2 separate regions of the Homo sapiens genome follow, and region 1 is linked to region 2. The links are contacts of gene promoters, found by promoter capture Hi-C in blood cells and fetal thymus (Javierre and others, 2016). All regions are on one chromosome and are shown on one strand. The core of a region is centred on a gene start or on the middle of the fragment in contact, and the rest is flanking DNA. Distances in the headings are between cores, read along the strand shown.

The links. Contacts are between HindIII fragments. The CHiCAGO score rates a contact against its expected background, and 5 or more counts as called.
Region 1: the fragment with the promoter of TRIM33 here is called in contact with the fragment with the promoter of HS2ST1 in region 2 in 1 of 17 cell types (total CD4 T cells); the score reaches 14.0 in total CD4 T cells.

Annotation. Positions count from the first base shown.
Region 1 is chr1:114,509,349-114,513,048 of GRCh38, reverse strand. It overlaps TRIM33 (tripartite motif containing 33), which reads left to right and starts at 1,846. Exons shown (of 20, transcript NM_015906.4): 1 at 1,846-2,498. The coding sequence starts at 1,973. It overlaps LOC124904348 (a long non-coding RNA gene), which reads right to left and starts at 1,711. Exons shown (of 2, transcript XR_007066452.1): 1 at 1,124-1,711. RefSeq lists enhancers at 1-649, 1,510-1,679 and silencers at 1,870-1,979, 2,010-2,309. The HindIII fragment of the contact is 2,747 bases long and covers 1,010-3,700 here.
Region 2 is chr1:86,911,819-86,915,884 of GRCh38, reverse strand. HS2ST1 (heparan sulfate 2-O-sulfotransferase 1) reads right to left here and starts at 1,250. Exons shown (of 7, transcript NM_012262.4): 1 at 725-1,250. The coding sequence starts at 848. SELENOF (selenoprotein F) reads left to right here and starts at 1,759. Exons shown (of 5, transcript NM_004261.5): 1 at 1,759-1,857. The coding sequence starts at 1,774. RefSeq lists enhancers at 1,510-1,629, 1,680-1,839, 1,233-1,847, 1,950-1,999, 1,848-2,462. The HindIII fragment of the contact is 1,083 bases long and covers 549-1,631 here.

The DNA of each region.
Region 1 (3,700 bases), core at 597-3,096, about 28 Mb before region 2:
AGGTTCCTTCATCTGATCAACAGGGGCCTTCTTCAATCACCTCTAACCCCTTTTACCCCACTTATTCTTTTCTTCACAGCACTTACCACTCCCTGGCATGTATCTATTCTCAATCTTTTTCTCTATTAGATTGTAAACCCCTTGAATGCAGGGAGCTCCTCTGTTTTGTAATCCCAGTGTATCTCTAAAACACTATGACAATAAAGAGGTCAGGAAACATTTTTGAATAAATTTTAAAAAGTTTTCAGGAGGCTGGGCGCAGTGGCTCATGCCTGTAATGCTAGCATTTCCAGCGGCTGAGGCGGGCCAATCGCTCGGGCCCAGGAGTTTCAGCCTGGGCAACATGGTGAGACCCCAGCCTCTTCGAGGCAAAGGGAAAAAAAAGATCAGCTAAGTCATGGTGGCGTGCATCTACGGTCCCAGGTAATTGCGAGGAGCACGGCTTGAGCCTGGGAAGTCGAGGCTGCAATGAAATGTGATGACGCCACTGCACTCCAGCCAGGGCGACAGAACGAGGAGGTCTCAAAAAAAAAAAAAGTTTTCACGTGGTTTAAGGACTTACAGCACCTTTCTTGGGAACACTAACAGGAGACCAAAGCATTTCATGATCTTAACACTAAAACAGTTGTTGCACTACATAAAATCCTCCAAATACCTTTTTTTTTTTTTCAAATAAAAAGGCAACTTTCTGAAAGCTTTTCTTTTTTTTTTGAGACGGAGTTTCGCTCTGTCGCCCAGGCTGGAGTGTAGTGGCGCTATCTCGGCTCACTGCAGCCTCCGCCTCCTGCCGGGTTCAAGCCATTCTCCTGCCTCAGCCTCCTGAGTAGCTCGGATTACAGGCGCACGCCATTACACCCGGCTAATTTTTATATTTTTAGTAGAGACGGGGTTTCACCATATTGGCCAGGCTGCCCACGAACTCCTGACCTGACCTCAAGTGATCTGCCCGCCTCGGCCTCCCAAAGTGCTGGGATTACAGGCGTGAGCCACTGCGCTTGGCCTGAAAGCTTCTACTACCATTGTTGTAAGGGCATTTGTCACCCAGCTCAACCCAGGACACTTAAAGTGGGACCTCAGAAGGACGCAGTATTGGTTATATCCGTGGCTCTCCAAACTGACATACATAAGAATCAGCTGAAGGGACTTTTCCCCCTCCGTCGGCTCTCTCCCTCACTTCCTGATTCAGGTCTGGGGACTGGCCCTGGCATCTCTGCTTTGAAAAACTCCTCCGTTGATTCTGATACGTAGCAACTCCTGAGAATCACCTTAAGATGCCAAAAATAGCTGTTAAAGAGTTTCTTCCTCACTCGGTCTTTTCAGCCTATTTCTGATAGATCCTCAGTTCAAAAACAAAAAGCAAAAAAAAAACAAAAAAAAAAACCAAAACCAAACAAACAATAAGCCCCGCTTTAGTGCTCCACGGCCACCCAAAGGAACGCGGCTGGTCTACGCACAGCAGAGACCCAGGAGGTCCCGGCGATCGAGCGGCGCGGCAGGTGAAACTTCCGCGGAGACGCCCGGGACACGCTCGCAGGGACCGGAACCGTCCCGGCTACCACCCTTCCGTATGCACCACCGCTGTGTCGGAGTTCATAACCAACCCCAGCCAAAGGCTACCCAGCGTCAACGGCCTCTGGCTTTAAAAAAAAAATCTCCCTTCGGGTTAAAGAGCCGCGGCACTGACGCAAGGAACTGGCTTCGAGGGTCCGGGACCGCTCCGCGCCCGCGAACCGAGTTCCCGCCTCCCTCGGGAGGACGTCCGTGCGTACGTGCGCGTGCCGCAACCGCCCTCCTTCAAACGCGCGACGCGAGGGCGGGGGCGCCGCGTGCGCGCGCGCTCTCGTTGGTTCGCTCTCTCGCTAGCTCTCGGCTGCCGCTCTTGCTGCGGCTGCGGCTGGGGCTGGGGGCGGCGGCGGCGGCGACGCGGGCGGCGGGCGGCGCGGGGCGGTCCGGCGGGTTCAAAGAGGAAAACATGGCGGAAAACAAAGGCGGCGGCGAGGCTGAGAGCGGCGGCGGGGGCAGCGGCAGCGCGCCGGTAACTGCCGGGGCCGCCGGGCCCGCCGCGCAGGAGGCGGAGCCGCCTCTCACCGCGGTGCTGGTGGAGGAGGAGGAGGAGGAAGGCGGCAGGGCCGGCGCTGAGGGCGGCGCGGCCGGGCCCGACGACGGGGGGGTGGCCGCGGCCTCCTCGGGCTCGGCCCAGGCTGCTTCATCTCCTGCGGCCTCAGTGGGCACTGGAGTTGCCGGGGGCGCAGTATCGACGCCGGCTCCAGCTCCAGCCTCGGCTCCCGCTCCGGGTCCCTCGGCAGGGCCGCCTCCTGGACCGCCAGCCTCGCTCCTGGACACCTGCGCCGTGTGTCAGCAGAGCTTGCAGAGCCGGCGTGAGGCGGAGCCCAAGCTGCTGCCCTGTCTTCACTCCTTCTGCCTGCGCTGCCTGCCCGAGCCGGAGCGCCAGCTCAGCGTGCCCATCCCGGGGGGCAGCAACGGCGACATCCAGCAAGGTGAGCCGGAGGCCCTGCCTGGCATCTGGGCCGCAAGGGATTTGCGCAACCCTAGAGGAGCTGGGGACGGAGGTGCTGGGGCCTGGGGCTGCTCGGACGGGCGCCATCCCGAGGGGTCTCTAAGGTGAAAGACTCGCCCCTGGGACACTTTCCAGAGAAGCTGGACCGCAAGAGATAAGGGGAGCATGAAGGGAGGGGTGCCGGCTGCGAGAGGCTGGGGGAGGGGACACTGGCTCCGAGGGAGGGTTTGTGATGTGCGGAACCCGGCCGAGCGCTGGTTCTGGAGCTGGCAGACCCGTACAGTGAGAGAAGGGGGATTTGGGAAACACGTTGTGAGGAAGCGTTTTGGCTGAAAGGGCCCGGGCCAGCGAGGTGTTGAGGGAGTAGGTAAGAGGTAAGGGCAGTGAAGATGGATTGCTTTGGAGGGAGGGGACTTGGCGTGTTCACAGATAGGAGAGAGGAGGACTATGGATTAAATGGAGGTGGAGAGAATATGTTGGAGAGCAAGGGGTCCAGAGAAGGCGCCTGGAAGAAAATTGTAAGATGACATGGGGAAAGAGAAACTCGGAAAGTGGACTGCATGGTTAGGGAAAATCCTAAGGTTTGGGGATGAAGGAGAAATGAACTTTGAAGGAAATTGAGAGTTAGGGAAAGCTGGGCATGAATTTGTTTTAGCTAATTGGCCGTTAATGAGCCCCTAGTGTTGGGGCACTGTGCTAGGATTGAATAAAGTACTCAATGAAGACTTCATTCACAGTCTAACAGGAGAAACATATAACTTGCAGCAGTGGAGGTGAGTCCTCAGTACAATGGTTGTGGCACAATAGAGGAAAGGTCAGGGAAATTTCACAGGAAAGGAAATCCATGAACAGGTTTCTTGAAGAATGAGTACCTCACTGGGTTGGAGGGTATTCAGGGCACAGGACACCCTTCTACATCCCTGGAACTAAAGACTGTGTAGGGTGATTGGTGGAAATTAGATTGGATTGATGGGCTGAAAAGATAAAGGTTTCACAGTCTCTTAAACTCTTGGGATCCAGGTGTAAGGACTTCAGAATATTTTGGGATTTTTCTTTTTTCTGGCAAGGTCTGTTATGTGAGACTTTTATCAGGGTCTGAGTTAACTCTATCAAACACGTTAATGTTTCTACATTGAAACACGTGAATGTCACGCTAATGGGATAGACGATAAATAACCTCCC
Region 2 (4,066 bases), core at 1-2,500:
GTGAAGCAACATACATAGGCATCCCTATTCTCAAGCCCCAATTCATCAGTTTAGCGCCACTAAAGAAGAATTTAAATCTCCGGACCCTCATTTCCGTACTCCGATGAAGCTTTGCACTCGCGTTCCCGCACTACCCGGCCAGCCTCCCTCAGCTGGCAATTACAAGGTCCTTTGCTGCCCGGAGCACAAGAGTGCAACTCGCTACAGTGTTCACATGTTGCTCTCCGTCATCCCAGCATCTCCTCCCATTTCTGCGCACCTATCCCTTCATGAGCCCCCAAAAGAATTCGTATCCAGATGCCCATAGCTCAAATTAGAATACCCCTCATCTGACATTGCCAGGGCTTCCTGTACGACTTCCAAGAGAACACGCGATGCTAAGCGCTTCTGTCTCCGGAGACCAGCAACACACGCTCCCCACTGAGTTCGGTCTTCTCTCTCGCTCTCTCTCCGCGGAATGCCTACTTCGGGGCTACCCTTTGGCTAGGGAAGCCCAACCTTGCAACCTCTGCCCCGTGACCTCGCGAGCCCAGCACGCCGCTCAAGCTTAATTCAACCCATTCTTGGAGCTCGTGCTCTCGCTGCCCCTTGTTCCCGGTTCTCTTTGAAACCGCTTTCAGCCCCCGAGCCAGACCCCAGGTTAGATGAACGCCCACTTGCTCCGGCGGCAGCGCCTCCTCGGCCCCTTCCACAGCACTCAGCCCGGGGCAGTTCAGTTCCTCACCTAGCTTCGAGCGGGACTCCTCCAGTTTCTGGATCTGGTTTTCCAAGAAGAGCATCGCCACCGCGAAGGCCACCACCGCCAGCAGCTGCAACTTGGGCGGCATCATAATCCTGAGGAGCCCCATGAAACCCGCTGCTCGGGATCAAGACATACCGCGGGGGGCGGGGAGCGGGACCCCGGAGGCGAGAGAGACGCCGGGAGGAGCCCGCCGAGCCGGGAGCGAGGCAAAGAGAGAGCGACAGCGAGAGAACCACCGCAGCGACCCCCCTTCTCGCCTCTCCAGTCCCCCTCCCCCAGGCGCTATCACCAACGCCGCTGGTGTCCGCTTCTCCTCAGCCGACTAAACGGCCGCCCCCTCCAAAAGCCCGCGCAGCAAACAGCGCGAAGCGGCTGCCGGGCTCTCGCCTCCCTCTACTGCCTCAGTCCCCGACCCCCGCGCCCGCCTGCTTGCCCGCCTCCCTCTCTTCCTTCCTTCCCTCCCTCCTTTGCTCGCGGCCGCGCGCCCCTCCACCGGCGCTGCGGCTGCGCCGCCCTCATCCCCGCCCCCGCCCATCCCCCTCCGCCACCACGCGCACGCATCCGCGTACGCTGCTCGGCAACCAGAAGCCCCGCCCCTCCCCCCGTTCGGGTCCGCTTATTGGACGGAAGAGCCCCTGCGCTTCGCTCTTGGTTCGGTTTACGGTTGGTTTCCTCTGCCACAGAGCTCAATCAAGACGACATTCAATTGGGTAAACTTGGAGAAGAAGGCGGGGCTAAAACTGGCGAAGGCGTGGCTTCTTGGCTGCTTGACGAAGTGTCGTGAATAAAAGAAAGGAGACCGCAGAAGTAAAGAAGTGGGGAGTTTAGGCAAGTGCCTGATTTGGGTAATCGAAAGCACCCAGTGATTGTATTTGATGACTTTTAAGCTTTCATATGCCGTTATTTAATACCTGTCACTTCCAAATGAGAGATGTAAGGGCAACGGCCGTTAGCGTTCTGTTTTGGATCAGGCTCTGGAGTGGACGCCCCTAGCTTAGGGGTCCTTCTAGGCAGCCAGAAACCTGCGGAAAATGGTAGCGATGGCGGCTGGGCCGAGTGGGTGTCTGGTGCCGGCGTTTGGGCTACGGTTGTTGTTGGCGACTGTGCTTCAAGCGGTGAGTGTAGATCACCTTCGCAGCTGCCACAGGGAGAGTAGGAGTGATTGCAGCTGAGAAAGACGCAACATTCGGTCCTGGTTGAAAAGGGTGGGGAGGACTGCGCTTCCTTAATGACTGCTGCGGCCAGAATGCAACGTGGCTTAATTTCTCGGTTGATCCTTCTCCTTCCCCGCCTTGGGTTTCTAGCAGCAGTTTTCTCTTGATTTCAGATTGTCTTGGGTACGTAGCTTCTCTTATACGGCTCTTGCTAAAAACAATCTGTAAACCACACCAGGTGGGAGGGGGGAATAATAAAGCTTGGCAAGAAGTGGAGGTTGTTTTTAAATGGACAGAAATGCAAGAGACTCATGACGAGACTTCCAACTCTTAGAGGCAAGTCTTCAAGTCGTTGGTCCAGGCGAACAGTTTGTGTTTACCTCTCTCGCGCGCGTGCTCTCTCATTTTCACTACTTCTGTTAGTCTCTTAACTTCCGTTCTCCTCTGCTATTCATATACGGCTGGCTGCGCTTGAGTGCGATTTGTGCTTTTAAACAATGTTGTTGGAGTAAAAGGAGTTATCTATACCAAAGTATAATTCATTTTTGAAGTTAGTTTTTTAAATGATGTTCGTTGTCTTCTTTAAGGCAGCGTTTTTTATTTCATTTTTCTCTATTGGCAGAATAGATGGGTGACCTTTGAATGGGAAAAGTGTACTTTTAACTTATTTCTTCTCATATCCATGTTCTGCTGTGTGAATAGTAAAATTTTAGGCACAGTGCTGAAAGCTTTTACGTTTTTTTATCCTAGCTTAATTCTTCGGGTAGTCTCTAATAAGGAGACCTGGTTTAATTTACTTATCCAAGGTTGAGGGTGTTAAGGGACTACACCGGAGTCCTCTATGAACACCTGTACTTACCTTTCTCAAAGAGCTTGAAAGCATCCTGGCTGTTTGCTTTGGCTACTTTAACCAAAAGGTAGATTCTTAACTTCTGTAATTAACATTCCAATTATCTTGTTATTCAGGCATTTGGTGCTAGGAATTACTGGATCACCTCTCCCTAAACTTTCTACTGTTTAAGGGTTTTTGCACATCTTTAGGTCATTCGAGATAACATTTCAGGTTGTCTTTTTTTGATCTCCCTCTGTCTTTGACTGTCAGTTGTCTATAGCTGTGTAACCGCCCTAAAACCTAGTAGCTTAAAACAGCAATGATTTCTCATAATTCTGGGTCAGTGGAGTAGAACTACTCCACCTATGTTGGTTTTCCCCTGGCCTCATTTATGCTTTTTGTTGACCTAGTAGGTCAGCTAAACCGAAAGGTTCCAGGATTACCACTGTTTATAGTTGGTGCTGTCAGCTCGAGGACTTGGTTCTGTTCCGTGTGACCTCTCATCCTCCAGTCGGCTAGACCAACTTCTTTTCATGGCACTCTCAGGGCAGCACTCCAAAAGAGCAAAAGCTACAATGCCTTCTAAAGCCTTGCCTTGGAAATCACATATATTACTTCCATCACATATTTCTCAAAGCAAGTCACAAGACTAGTTCACATTCAGGGATGGAGAAATAGATTTCATCTCTACATGGGAGGAATGACAGAGTCACTTTGCAAAGTGTGCATACCAGGATAGGAGGTATTTATGGAATTAACTAATTCCATATGTAATAATGATAGGAATTAATTAAACAGCGTACCACAGTGACTGTGCACAGAATCCAAACTAGAAATTTGGATGTCATGTTTGACTCCTTTCCTTACATATATCATATCCAGGGAATTACTGAAACTTACTGATTTTAATTCCTAAGTATCTCAAATCCATCCACTTATTGTTAATCACTCAGGCCATAAACATCTCTCTCCTCAGAAATAACAGCGTCTTGGTTCACCGTTTGAATTATCCCTGGCTGTATTCAGAATCTAAATGGTTGGCTTTGCCTTTGTCAGCTTCCCAATTGCCCAAGCCAAAAATTAGTCATTTTTGGCCAGTTGTGGTGGCTCATTCCAGTGCACTTTGGGAGGCTGAGGTGGGCAAATCACCTGAGGTCAGGAGTTCAAGACTAGTCTGGCCAACACGGTGAAACCCCGTCTCTAGTAAAAATATAAAAATTAGCTGGGCGTGGTGGCGCATGCCTACTCGGGAGGCTGAGGCAGGAGAATCACTTGAACCCAGGAGGCGGAGGTTGCACTGAGCCGAGATTGCACCATTGCACTCCAGTCTGGGTAACA